Regions from separate parts of the Homo sapiens genome. Here region 2 is linked to region 1. The links are contacts of gene promoters, found by promoter capture Hi-C in human tissues and cell types (Jung and others, 2019). All regions are on one chromosome and are shown on one strand. The core of a region is centred on a gene start or on the middle of the fragment in contact, and the rest is flanking DNA. Distances in the headings are between cores, read along the strand shown. Region 1 holds the start of GYPC (glycophorin C (Gerbich blood group)). Region 2 has its middle 240 kb from the start of LINC01889.

Evidence for each region. The method cuts DNA at HindIII sites, captures the fragments that hold promoters and counts their contacts. A contact is called where the count stands out against the background at its distance.
Region 2: a fragment that was not itself captured here is called in contact with the fragment with the promoter of GYPC in region 1 in 1 of the 25 tissues and cell types used here (lymphoblastoid cells).

Annotation. Positions count from the first base shown.
Region 1 is chr2:126,652,371-126,659,306 of GRCh38, forward strand. GYPC (glycophorin C (Gerbich blood group)) reads left to right here and starts at 3,788. Exons shown (of 4, transcript NM_002101.5): 1 at 3,788-3,942. The coding sequence starts at 3,894. RefSeq lists enhancers at 3,438-3,727, 4,521-5,360, 4,818-5,067, 5,258-5,487 and a silencer at 3,818-4,187. The HindIII fragment of the contact is 14,870 bases long and covers 1-6,936 here.
Region 2 is chr2:125,464,886-125,471,960 of GRCh38, forward strand. No RefSeq gene overlaps it. Among named protein-coding and RNA genes, the nearest start is that of LINC01889, 240 kb to the right of the region's middle. The HindIII fragment of the contact is 6,757 bases long and covers 216-6,972 here.

The DNA.
Region 1 (6,936 bases), core at 2,538-5,037:
TTAATACTTTGTATCCTTCAATCCAATCAAGTTGACACTCAGTATTAACCATCACACCTCCAAATGAGGAAACAGTGTGAACAAAATATTCACCTAAAAGAAGCTGTGATTTGTAAATAAGCAACTGACAGCATATTCGGCCTCTCTGGTAATCAAAGAAAATGCTGACACAAATAACTATGTATGTTTCTTTTCTATGGAATTAACTATGATTTTAAGTTTGCTGTTTAATTCTGGCAAGAGACTCTGAGATAAACACTGGTACTCTTGATTGGGAAGAAAGTAAAGGTCACAGCCAGAACTTATGAATGTATCAAAAGCTTTAAATGCATTTGTAACCTTTGATTGAGTAATTCTGCTTGTCAGAATATACCCTAAGGAAAAAATTATGAAATCCAGATATTTATGTTCATATGGTTATCACAGCACTATTCAACCAGCAAAGAAAATGAAACAACCTAGTAATTAAAATGAGTTAAAGAGCTTTTCTACTTTTACATGAGAAAATGCTCATGACATAATGTTTAGTAGTAAAAGCTCAGCACTTGAAATCACGTATTCAGTAAAATCTCAAGAGTATAAAGCAAATATTCGTAAATGCATAAAAAAGACTAAAGGTAAATAACCTTAATGTGCTGGAGATTGCAAGCAATTCTTAGGGTTTAGGTATCTTTTTGGCTTTTTCTTTTTTATTTTTTCTTTTTGCACAAAGAGCATGTGTTACTGTGATGAGGGGCAAAACCTTTCATTAAAGGCCCAAGCAACATCTACCTACCACCATCTGTAAGGGCTCACCCAGGAGACAGCAACAGCAGCAGGGGACCGCCAACTCCACTCCCAATAAGGAACTAGCACTGAGGATTTGGAAGGCAGTTTCCCATGAGCAGTTTCTTCCCTGAAGAGGAAGAGAAAATTCATCTCCAGGACTGGATCATACCATCTCACATCTTGGAGGGCTCTGCAGCTTGTATCAGCCACAGACAGTCAATGAAGACACAGCTAGAACCGTCCATCCCGGCTGCACTGCAGAGCAAGTTCTTGTCACTGTGCTGAACTTCTGGGTTCTCATCTTTACAATGGACTCTTGGCAATACTCCGTTTAAGAGTATTTATGGGAACTAGACAAGATAAGAACTGGTTTATTATTGCAAGATATAGCTGAGTTTTTTTTTTAACTTCATTAATAAATATCCAACACATGAAGACACACTAATAATACATTTCTTGACTTATGTCAGACTGTTACCATATAATTAAATTTTTCACATAATTATTTTCCCTTCTTAAGAGTCATTTATTTAACATTAGACACTTTCATAGTTAAATTTTCTAAAATATGTCAAATGTTTCCCTGTTAGCTAATTTGCTACACACTAAGACACACTATTTACTTTCTTTTTCAAATGACTTGGGGTCCTTACTATGAACAAAGTATGTGTTAGAGGAGGAAGGGGGCCAATATCTTTAAGTAACTCCAGTGTACTCTCATTGTAATTACCTCTTTAATTATTATCGAATATATTACTCACAACAGCCTAACTTTGCAGATTGCTCCAATTTCCAGGCTGAGAAAAATGAGGCTCAGAGAAAGAAAGTGAAATGCTGAAGGTTACGCAGCTAGTAGGCAGTAGAGTAACTAACCCAGATTGAGTTCCAAAGCCCTGTGGTCTTTAATAGCGCAAGGAACTGTCACATCCTCCAGTGATGGCTGGAGCTGAGATTGCTTTAGTTCTGTAACAAATGCTACTTCGTTCTTGTATCTGACCTCTGCAGTTTGTGGGGCTTTCAATTTTCACTGTTTAGTTCGTTAGTTTATTAATTTTTGGCTTATTTTCTGTAAGGAATTCTCTGCAACATTTTGATGCCTTCAACCTGTCTTACCCTAAGAAATTAAGGAAATCTCTTATGATTACGTCTAAGGCCAGTAGGTTCTAAATGAGTCTGTAAAAGTGACTTCTCTAAGTGTGCTGCAATGACCTAATGACTTGTCCGTTGTTACCTGGCAGAACTTTCTGCTTCTTTCCAACTTTCCAGCTGCATTTCAGATAATTAAAGTTATTTTCTCTCAGGACAGAGGAGCGGGACTACTGTTCCACGTAGACGTATGTGTATGTATTACCAAAAAAAAAAGTTAAACTGTTAAAGTAATCACGGGTGCAGTGGCTCACGCCTGTAATCCCAGCACTTTGGAAGGCCAAGGTGGGTGGATCACCTGAGGTCGGGAGTTCGAGACCAGCCTGACCAACATGGAGAAACCCCGTCTCTACTAAAAATACAAAATTAGCCAGGCGTGGAGGCACATGCTGGTAATCCCAGCTACTCGAGAGGTTGAGGCAGGAGAATTGCTTGAACCCAGGAGGCGGAGGTTGTGGTGAGCCGAGATCACGCCGTTGGACTCCAGCCTGGGCAACAAGAGCAAAAACTCCGTCTCAGAAAAATAAATAAATAAATAAATAAAAATAAATTAATCATTACTCATTGCTGTTTATTAAATGCCTTTTCTGTTCCCACTGTGATTCTACAATCACTGCCTCTGTAAAACCCCGGAATGCAGGTGTTCTTGCCTCCATTTTATAGATGAGGAAATCAAGACTCAGGGCTTCCCCACCAGGCCAAAGGCATTCTGTGAGTAGTTTATTTCAATTCAACATGGCTGTGCTGCACATGGCAGTTGGAGTAAAGATCTATCAGCATCGGGGGTTCTTCATGATCTAACTAAAGTGAATCATGAGTGCTTTCCCACTGCGTCAAGAAGGCCTGGAGTTTGTGCAGCCCGGCTAGAGGTGAGCAAAGCCTCTGTGTTGCAAATCTCCAGGGCGCAGCCTCTCATTGTATTCAATGCAGATGACAGTCCCAAAGGCACCGCCCATACATTGTACAGACAGCTGGCCTGGCTCTCCGGATTGTGCAGGATAGGCCTTAATGGCAGAAGGTAGGGGAGAGGTGGGCGTCACAAAAGTGCTTGGGGAACTATAAAGTAAACAATGAAAAGCAGCACAGGAAGGTTCAGACATCACACAGGAGAAGCACAGGGTGTTCCCCTGGGTGGGGATTTAAAACAAGGGCCTCAAGTTCCCTGCCCTTGTCTCTGGGCAGAAGGGGCAGATAATGCTATGATACATTTTTTGTAGGTGGTGCCATTTGACTGCATTTAACCAACAAAGGTATGTATCGAAATCCACGTGGAGATTTTCATGGCAAAAGTAGAGCGAATTCACAAACTGCACTGTGTCTGGCAGCTTCAGACAAAAGCAATGGGAACAAATCACGACTCTTGTCCAGCAATTCTTCCTGTTTTGGAATGATCTTTGCTCAACAGCCCATCCATGAGTACAGGGCCCCCAAAGGCCAACAAGACAGGGACTCTCTCCAGGGACAAATGCCCCGCAGCTGAGAGAGGCCGCCCAGCTATCCAGCGGCCGCGCAGCCAGCCAAGATTTCAACACAGGTCTGCCCTATTTGGTCACCATCCCCGACAGTGCTGGGCCAGGCCATCATGTCACATTGGGGAGTTTTCCCTGCACTCCAGGGGGAATTCTCAACCACAACCTCTGTATCCGGTAGTGGCAGATGGAAAGAGAAACGGTTAGAAAAGCGTGGTTCTTGCGCAGGAAAGTTGGAGCAAAGAAGAGTTCAGAAGTGGGCGGGTGTGTGTTTAAAAAAAAAAAAGGGGGTGGAAACCCCACCAGCCAAGTCTGCAGAAAAAAAATAAATGAAGTCTGCCTATCTCCGGGCCAGAGCCCCTCCCCTCGGCCCGCGCGGGAGGAGTGTGACCCAGGTGCCGCTTCCTCTCGCCGCCGAGGGTCAGGAGCCCGGGAGCGCGACCCTCCCCCGGCCCGGCCTGGCCCGGCCTGGCCAGTCCCCGCGGTCTCTGCCCGGGCTGACGCCCAGGAATGTGGTCGACGAGAAGCCCCAACAGCACGGCGTGGCCTCTCAGCCTCGGTGAGTACCCGCCGTGGGGAAGGGTCCTGGGGACCCACTGGAGGCCGCGGCCCGCAGCAGCCAGGGGCCGAGCCACGGCCACGGACGCCCTGGTGTCCCGGTCCGTGCCGGGCCTCCAGGCGGAGGAGGCGTCCGCTGGGCTCAGATCCCCGACTCCAGCCCCGGTTCCCCGGCGCCTGGGCTGCGCGGAGTCCCTGTCCCGCGTCCCGGACCCCTACGCGCAGCCTCCACGCGCTCCGAGCTGGAGAAGCCGCCAGCCCGCCCTCCCAGGGCGTGTCGCCCGCTTTCTGTTTCTTTGTGCGGGGCATGTGAAATGTGTGGGGCCAGAATTGTCTCCCTAAAGAACAGTTAGGTGAGAGTTCACATCACAAGTTGCTTCTGTGCTGCTCCCCAGCCAGGGTCCGACCGGCCAGGCTCCGGTGAACTCCAGGCAACTCCAGCCTTGCCCAGGGACTTGCTCGCTCCGCTGGGCGCCGCAAAGGCACACAGATGCGAGGGAATCCTGCGGCCTGGATCCTTTGGGGATTTGTAATTCCTCGCTGCTGGTTTTCTCTTTTAAACCATCACGTTTTCTTGCTGAGAGGAAATCATCTGTGATGAAAGTCTTTGTAGATGCTTGGAAACATTGCTGGGCCTCTCTCTGCCCTCTTCCTCTGCCGTTGGACTTTTGCAATAAAAACTACCATTTGATTTTACCAAAAAACGTAATGTACATCCCTCTTACCCCCACCCTGCCGCGGTCTGATTCTTAGAGTCTGTCAGAGAGGAGATACCCTGAGCCTATCATGTGACAATGATACCTTATTGATATGATAATGATATGGGTATTGGAGACACCAACTCTTTTATAAGTCTTTGAAATCCAGGGGGTTGTGAGGCCTCACCCCTCACCCCGCCTGAGCTTGGAGCTTGGCGTGGAGGAGTGCTGCTTCGGTCTACGTGTGTACACGGCACTCCATGTGCCTGTGGTTGTGCTTGCGTCAGCCTGGGAGTGCGCAGGCATCAGTGGTGCTTGGGAGCGAGGCCCCTCAGTCTGCACTGGGATCATCTGCACTGCCTATAAACAAGGCAGCCTCTCTTAGCTCCAGTTTCCTCATCTGCAAAGTAGGAAAGTAGGAATAATAACAGGAGATAACTCATCCAGCAGCACGAAGTGCGTATAAATGTCCCGGCACGGAGTCTGACACATCCTAAGTGCTGGATCCGTGCTGGGCATGTTTATATAATTGCACATGAGACTGTGGTTCCCGGAGCACGTAACTTGAGCATATGTTTATGTGTGTGTATACGGCAGGTCCTGGGTTAAAGGGACAGGAGCCACTGTCATTATTCCAATTCAGTCACTGAGGAGGTGAGGCTGAGAGGCATTCTCATGTCTGAAGAGGATGGGCTTGCCTGACCCCCGCCCCCGTGCCCAGCCCAGCCCAGCAGCCCAAGCAGTTCTCCAGGACTCAGGTTTCAGACCTTCAACACTTGCCTTGGGAGACAAACAGCGGTGCAGCCCTTGCTTGCAAGCCATTCCACATTAGACTTCGGATTGATTTATGGCAGGATCCCTGCTGTGCGAGAACTGCAGGGGGGGTGGGGGGCGGCTATTTCTTGCTGCTAACTCAGGCAGGATGTGTCTATATCCTGTCTCAGTTTATGTAGCTGCTCATCAGAGCCAGAGGTTAGAGCGGAGAGGACCCACTTCCGCCAGGCCGGCCTGCTCTGCTCAGCTCAGCTGGGCTAGGCCCCAATGCCACAGTTACTGCGCGTGAGTCATGCACAGCAATCCATTGCCTTGCCCTTGGATGGAAGGGGTCAAGGCTCAGTGAGAAGACGGCCAGGTTTGGCAGCTTTATATAGAATTCACCGCCTCTGGCAGAAGCAGAGGATTGCATTAAGTGCCAAATGAAATTCCACCTCAGCCATTGCTCAATTCCTCCAGATGTCACTGGCACTGGGAGTCACATGATGCTGGTGGTCAGCAGCTGGACCCTTCCAAGGGTGCCCGTGGTTGGGCAAGTATTTCTGGGGACTTGCAGAGCTCCCTGGGGAGCAAAGGGTTGTGAAGTACAAGGCATTCTGCGCTTGTGGTGGGAACAAGTGAACCCATCTGCAGTGAGTAGGAAGAGGTCCCCTCAACAGAGGTGAGAGGTTGGGCCAAGTCAAGTCAGTTTGCCTCTTCAGGTGGCAGACCTGTATGTACATCTATGCCTCAAGTGCCTGTCTGAGGCCACAGCCAAAACATCTTCCAGTAACTGAGCATACCCAGTGGGCCAACAAGCACGCTCTAAATACAAAACCAAACAAACAGTAAAGTTAACAGTGAATGAAGAGTTAAAAATAGGAGAAAGACACCTTCTCCCTACCTCAATGGCAATTACTTTATTTATTGAGGATAATCCTTCTAGAAGTAAATTTGCTGATACAAATATTTCTTATTTTACATAATAAAAATGCATTTTATATATTTTACTTCATCTTGTTTTTTTTCCATCAGAATATCTCTTAAAGGTTATACCTTGTTATTTTCTTTAATCAGTTCCTCTGCTGATGGGCATTTAGGCTGTATGCAGACTTCATTTAATTTTTTTAAACCACACACAGCAGTCCTGTGACAATGAGTAAGGAGGATTTTACATGCATGTGTCTGTAAACTGTTAGGATAAATTCTCCCACCTCAGCATTTGATTTCTGGGACAAAGTGTGTATTCATTTAAAATGTTAGTAGATCTTAAGAAACTACCCTCCTAAAGGTCACACCGGTTTCTCATGCTCACAAATAGCCTATGAAAGTCACTATTTCCCTGCGTCCTCACTCACACTGCATTTTTTATCTTGGCCAAACTGAGAGGTAAAACAACAAAACAAACGCTGTCACTTTGGAATGAGCCTCTGTAATTAAGTGAGACTGAGCATGTTTTCTTACTTCCATAAGAGGTTGTATTACTTTTCGGGGAAGTGTCGGTTGATGCTTTTGTCCATTTCCTGTCAGCACCCCACCCCCGT
Region 2 (7,075 bases), core at 2,344-4,843, 1.2 Mb before region 1:
GATAAGTAATGGTCAAAAAGCAGATACAATTTAAATGACTGTCATAGGAGAATAAACAGAGTGAGTAAATTGTAATAAAATCATTCAATATATATTCATAAAAAATAAGAGTGAACAAATTGTATCTTCAAAGTACAATAACTAAATCTTAGAAATATAGAAAAATAGAAGATAGACATAAAATAAAACATGCACTATTATTCTATTTGTATTACATTTAAAAAAGGCAAAACTAATTCAGGATGTTAAAAATCAGCATTGTGATTACCCTTGAGCAGGACAGTAAATGGAACGAAAAACAAAAAAAGCTATTGGGGTTCTGGTTATATTCTGCTTTTTGAACCAGGTGATGACTGCATGGGTTTATTCTCTTGGTGAAAATTCAGTGAGATGTATAAACTAATAATCTGTATAATCTTCTGTATGTTTTTATCCTTCAAGATAAGTTTTGTCAAAAAAGAACAATTATAGTTTTTATTTAAACCATAATAGCAAATTAGTAAATAATCATATAAATTGCATAAAAATACCAGGTAAGATTAATCAAAGAATAAAAAATAGTTTAATATTTAAAAATATATTAATGTAAAACCACCTTAACATACGTTTGAGGAATAGTTATAAAATTATTTCAATATATGCATAAAAGTAATTCAATTTTCAACAATCTACAAGTCAACATTCATTCACAGTAACATTTATTGTTAGCAAAGTGGGAATAGAAGGAAAAGCCTAAATCTATTTAACTTTAAACTTTTGAAAAGTGTATTTATTAAAAATTTACAGCAAATAAGATACCAATTTAAGAAAAATTTAGAAATGATCCTATTAAAGTCAGACAGAGAAGACACCTATTATCTCTGCAGGGTGATGTTGAACTTGAAATGTTAGTCAAGAAAATAAGACAACAAAGAAAAATAAGACATATAAATGGGAAAGAAGAAATTACATTACTTTATGTGCAGATAATATAGTTATTTACATTAACAATCTGTTAGAACATATAAACTATTAGAACTAATAGTGTTAGGCAGGATTGCCATATATAAATGACATATAAAAATAACATCTCTATACACGAGCACAAAGAAAACAAAAGTGTAATAGCAAAAAATACATTCCATTTAAAATGGCAACCAAACTGTAACTATGAAGTTTTTAGAAACCAATCTAACCAGGTATAAACAAGATGTTCTTAGAGAAGATGACACAATTTGAGAAAAATAAAAGACTTGTATAAGTAAAGCAATATGCAATGTGTATGAATAGGAAGGCTCAATGTTATAAAGATGTCAATTAATCTACAAGTTCAATGCTATTCCCATTAAAACCCTGATAACATTTGCCCATGGAAATTGAAAAGTTGATTTTTGCATACATATGAAAAATTAAAGGCTAAAGAATTGAGAAGATAATTTTAAAGGTGAAGAATATATTACTGACAAGTATGCTATCAGATTTTTAATCCTATGCCAGTGAACAGTATGGCATTTGGTACAGTAAAAGGCAAGTAGATAAATGGATCCACACATGTATGGGAACTTGGTGTATGACAGAGAGATTATGTGAAATCAGTTAGCTCCATTTGTACTTTTCAATAGATTAAGTCCTATAGATTATGTTCCATTAAAAAATACATACAATAAGAATTGTACTGGGAGTAGGCATTCTTGTTACTCTGCCTGGATCTCTCAGGGTTGCTTTTGTCATTTCTGCACATTCCTTCTCAGTGTCGCTGTACTTTTCCAAAAGTCAGATTCTGTGCCTCTTTTAGGTGGACCAATTCAAGGCTCCCAAAGCTTGGAATTGCTTGGCTTTTTTAATTTTTTTATTTTATTTATTTATTTTTTGCTTCTCCTCAGCATCAGAGTCATAACTCCAGCTATTTCCCTTTTGAGAGGAAAAAAAAAAAGCCAGGTGCACTGCTCAAAGTTCTACCAACTGGGAGGATTACCCTTCACTACTGCCCTTCGGAATGTCCCCGAAAAAGGCACCATTTTCGAGTGCGCTTGCACATCATGCAGGGCCATCTGTAAATCAGGTCCGTGTATTCTCTTACTCTGTTAACTGTAGGGAACCATAGTTGTGAGACCATACTAACAGCATGGGAGAGAGAGAAAAGTGTAGCATAAGCTGAGGTCATAGGAGTTTGTGCCACTTCCTCACATAACTGAATTGTTGCCTCAGGGCCTGCTGGAGTACTCATGCAGTGCTGCTGTGCACACCCAACTTTAAAGCTTAGTGGCTTAGACAACCCAGTTCATGTTGGGCAGCTCAGGTTATCTGGTAACTTGATGGCTCGTGGCTAAGTGTCCAGTAGCTCAGTAGCAAGCCAAAAGCGCTATCAGAAGAAAAGCAGTTATCCACTCAGACAGGATAACTATCCAAGGATGGAAGGCTTTTCTCCAAAATCTGAAGGGTCTGCACTTTGATTTATTGGTGGGGGCCTGACAAAGGCTCCAAACAGCATCTTTAACTGCCCCTGATGCTTTCAGCACTATTTAGTCTTCTGGATCATACGGCCGCAGTAGAAACTATCTATCTCTGTCTTATATCACATTTCCATAGGGCCCCATTCAAAACTAGCAGGTTTTTTGGTGCATTTGTAGATGGGCCATGGCAGCACACTCCAATGAGGAATATGTTGCCTCCAAAATCCAAAATAGTTCACCAGATGTTGTATAGTTTTTTGGTTGTAGGAGAGGCCAGAAGCAACAACTTATCCTTCAACATAGAACAAATATCTTGACATATCCCAAACCACTGTATCCTCAGAAATTTCACTGTGATGGAAGGCCCCTAGGTTTTTATGGCATTTATTCTCCACCTTCTGACAGGTAAGTAAATAAATATCTTACCAATATGTCTAGACTACCTGCTACTGCTCACCAGGTTCAATCAGCATGTCATCATCAACATGATGGGTCGGCACAATGTCTTGTGGAAGGGAAAAGCCATCAAGCTCCCTGTGGACCGAATGTTGATAGAGTCTGAAGAGTTAGTACACCCTGACTGCAGAAAAGAGGAAAAATATAATTAAAATGGGAGACACTGGAACATGAAGGTGGACAATGTTAATGTTCATGGTTGGGTAGAAAAAGTAAGGTTGGAATATTAGAGGAGAAAGAAAATGAGAAATTAAGGACATAGAAAAAAAGTCTAACAGAATGCTACTTTACAAAAGGTAGGAGGATCAAAAAATCAAGTGAGATGTGTGTATAACACTAAATGCCACAGGTAAAGCTGGGATCGTGGGAACTAGAAGGGCGGATGAGTAAAGAATTGAAAGAGGTATCGTCACTGGTAGAACAAAGTCTCATAGAAGATAGAAGATAGGGGTTTGTTGTCACATGAACCTACACAAATTTTTAATGTTAAGTAGTCATGGTGTTCATTCCTAAACCTCTTTCTCATTCTCTGTTGATTTTTAATAGTTACTTTTTAAAATTTTAACTGAATATATACAGTATCTTCTTGAATATTTACAAAAGCATTAGTTAGATTTTATTAAATGTTCTTATGTTCCCTCAACTTTCTTTATTTCCTCTTAATTTGTGTATCTTGTTATCTTACTGATAATTTTTCACATCTATATATTTCTGTGGTTCTATTTTTTTAAAAATAAAACTTCAAGAAATAGTTTGAGACAATATTTAATATTTAACCATGCATATATAATTTATATATCCTTCATTATAGAAATAGTTCTGAAATTAAATGTCAGCACTATCAACTAGAAAATATTTTTGTTACCCAACAACTGAAGGCTTGTGCTATAGGGAAACAAAATTATCTCAGCTCTTAAGAATATTACAAGCCAGCTGGAAAAAAAATTATATAATACATTTACAAATACTAGTGACCCAAACAACATTCTTAATTGTTAGTTTCTCCTCCCAAACCATTTTTTATCTCAAACCATTATCTCTCAACCGATTTATTTGCAGGAACTTTGTCCTGCCTCCTTACCTCAATCATTATCCTTTGCATCCTGCTTAGTTATCAAATTAACCTTAATGTTGGACTCGAAATCATGTGGCTTCTCTGTTTCCATTTAATAGAACCCAACTTTACTAGACTTTCAAAATTCCAGAATTCTATTAACCAATATTTCTAGGATTGTAATTAATTGTTAAGAATGACAGTAGCCAGAGAGATTTATTTTCTCCTCAAATTACCAAGGCAGTTTTCATCCATATATAGAAAGTAGCCAAATTAAGTAATTTTTGGCTCATACACTACTAAAGTGTTTTCCTGGGTTGTGTTTCCAGAAAACCACCTGTACTATATATAAATAAATATAATCTGAAAAGAAAGTGAGGAGAAATTTAGTGATCAAATAAATATAGTGACTTCCACAACCTTAAAAAGGCTAATGTACATTGGAAAATGCGGTGGATTGTTCAGATAGCATTTCCAAAATTTATAAGACAAGGAAAATTTTTCTTGTAATTTTATCGCTTTGTGAATCGAGACAAGAGTGATATTCAAATCTTTTTGTTCTACTCCCTCTTAAAATTTTGATAAGTGCTGTACTTTCTTACACATTTAAAGTTTGCATCTAAAATGTTTCTACTTCAGTTTAATTAGTTGTATGGATATAACATCCAACCCTGTAAAAGTTGACATTTTTGTAATAAAACTGTTGTATTGCTTCTTAAAATGCATCCAATAGACTCTAAACACTATAACAATTTGCTATTCATAACTATTCATTTAAAATAAATGTGAATAAGCTCTTCTTTAATACTTAGAAATTGTATATATTTTTATCTTTTTGAACTTGTATTTTTGTTCTACTTGCTACACAGCATTTTAGCCTAAAGTAATGTGTCATGCATAAAACTCTTTTATCTTAATACATAATGAATGAGTTAACTTGCCTTTCAGAAACCTGCAATATAAGTCCTGCAAGGCCTGCCATGGCTCATGCAAAGCAAGATCACCACTTCAGCCTGCTGCCTCTTGGGCTGCAATCTCTACTACTTGCATGAGACCATTGAGACTGAACCCTCACACAACAAGTTAAACGAAGCAGCTTTATCACTCCCAGGTAGGCAGCAAAAGACAGCAGAAGCCTAGGATTCATGGAGAACCTGTTCTCCATGGCTCTGGAAACTGCCCAGGATGGATGGAGTCTTGTCTGCCTCTGCCCCCACCTGCACCACAGCTGAGGGACGCTGAAAAGCAGCCCGCCCTGGGTTTTATACCCTGAGGAAAAGATGACCACTGGGCTAAAGTGTTGCAGTATGTTCTGTTTCTACAGTGACAAGAGCAGGGCCTGGGCTGTTCCAGTCAGTCACTCTCTATCTCAGAACATTACAATATCAGCACATTCTGCAGTTATCCTTGAGAATTACAAGTGAGAAAGGGTGGAAAACTTGGTTGGTCCAAGGCCACCCAGAAAACTGTCCGAAAGCTCCCCATTTCCTAATGAAGAAAATAAAAATTTCTTGGTATAAATTTAAAGATTCTGTGATTGCCAATAAACTTTTCCATCCCTGTTTCATGATAGTAACTTTTCTTTTTTCTACACACTAGCACAAGTGAAATTCTCATGGTTCCTATCCTTGAGCTTCTTCAGGTACCTGTCTATAGGACCCTGTCTATTTTTCCAGAATGCCTGTTTGCATTTCTTTACTAATTCCCCTTTATTTCTGACTACTAAAATTCTGTGTACCTTCAAATCTCCACTTTGCACTTGTATGACTGTTCTCATACAATCATGAAAACTTCCTTTTTCTTTCCTCGAAAGGTAGTACTGTCTTGGTCCCAGTTACAAAACTTCTCTGAGAGCTGTCTCATGACACATGACATCACATTATTCTTCTTAGCTTAGCTATTTATATATTTGTCTTGCCTGTCCTACCTGAACACCAAGATTCTTGAAGCCTTAACACTTATTCCCGACCTTTTAAATCTGTCACAATAAGAGCATATTTATTTTTTAATTCAATCAGTAAACCTTTATTAATACATGGGCAAATAAGGTACTGACCTTGAACTCCCAATCAATAAAGGGCATTTTATCAGTTAGGTGTTGCCACAGTAATTCCGATTCAATAAATACAATCTCAAACTATCAAAAAATTACTACACATACATTTACTTTTTTCTCTCCTCAGTGTGTGAATTAGTTGGAGTTTAGCTAGTTTGGGCTGGATTCAGCCATGCTTGTCTCTGGACTGCAGGTCAGGCTAGAGTAGGCTTGACGTGTCTAGTTCTGAGAACTGGGATGAAGGCACAGCAGCTACACAGCTGACAGGGTATGTCAGCTCATGGTTAGGACAGAGCACAAGAGGACAGGCCCCACCACACAGCACATTTCAAGATGCCAATTATGTCAAATCTTGTTAACATCCTATTGGAAAAAGCAAGTCACGTGGGCTAAGGGCTGGGAAACACACAGCACCCATTGTGGGAAGGCTATAAATGTACATTACTACAAGAGAGGAAAGAATTAACATCAAGAATTCAATCTGCCATGACCATATAATTATTTGAATGAGAAGAGATTTATGAACGTTATGAAAAAGAAAATATCTTGTACTAGAAAAAATGTTGTTGTTATTGTTTTCCACAGAGGAGATGACATTATTGCTGACATTTAGGGTGAACTGTTTTCCAGGTACTGTGGGCAGAGAAGCACAGTAAAATAGCAGAGGCTACTGCTTACAGGCACAGAGCAGAGCATTGGGATGAGACAGTTGGAGAGATGCTTAGTGTCACGGGCTGGATGGTACAGCATCTGTGAGACAAGATGGAGACAGAGGTACCCAGTGTTCTGAATTTGATGCTCATCCCGTTCCTTGACAAGACATTTGACTTTTGTAGACAATAGGTTACCAAGGTTTATTTGGCTTTACTGTTAATGTTTTCTAAAAATTGACCTGCTAACCTGTATTATTCATTTAATACGTGTTTTTAAATAAGGGAATGAATAAATGGATAGTCACTTCCCTCCCTCCCTCCTTTCTACATTCTTTTAACAGGCAGATCCCTGAAAAAGGCTATGATGTCTTAGAGGGTTACGGAAATGCAGTAAAGTTACAAATTATTTGTACATAGAGGTGGA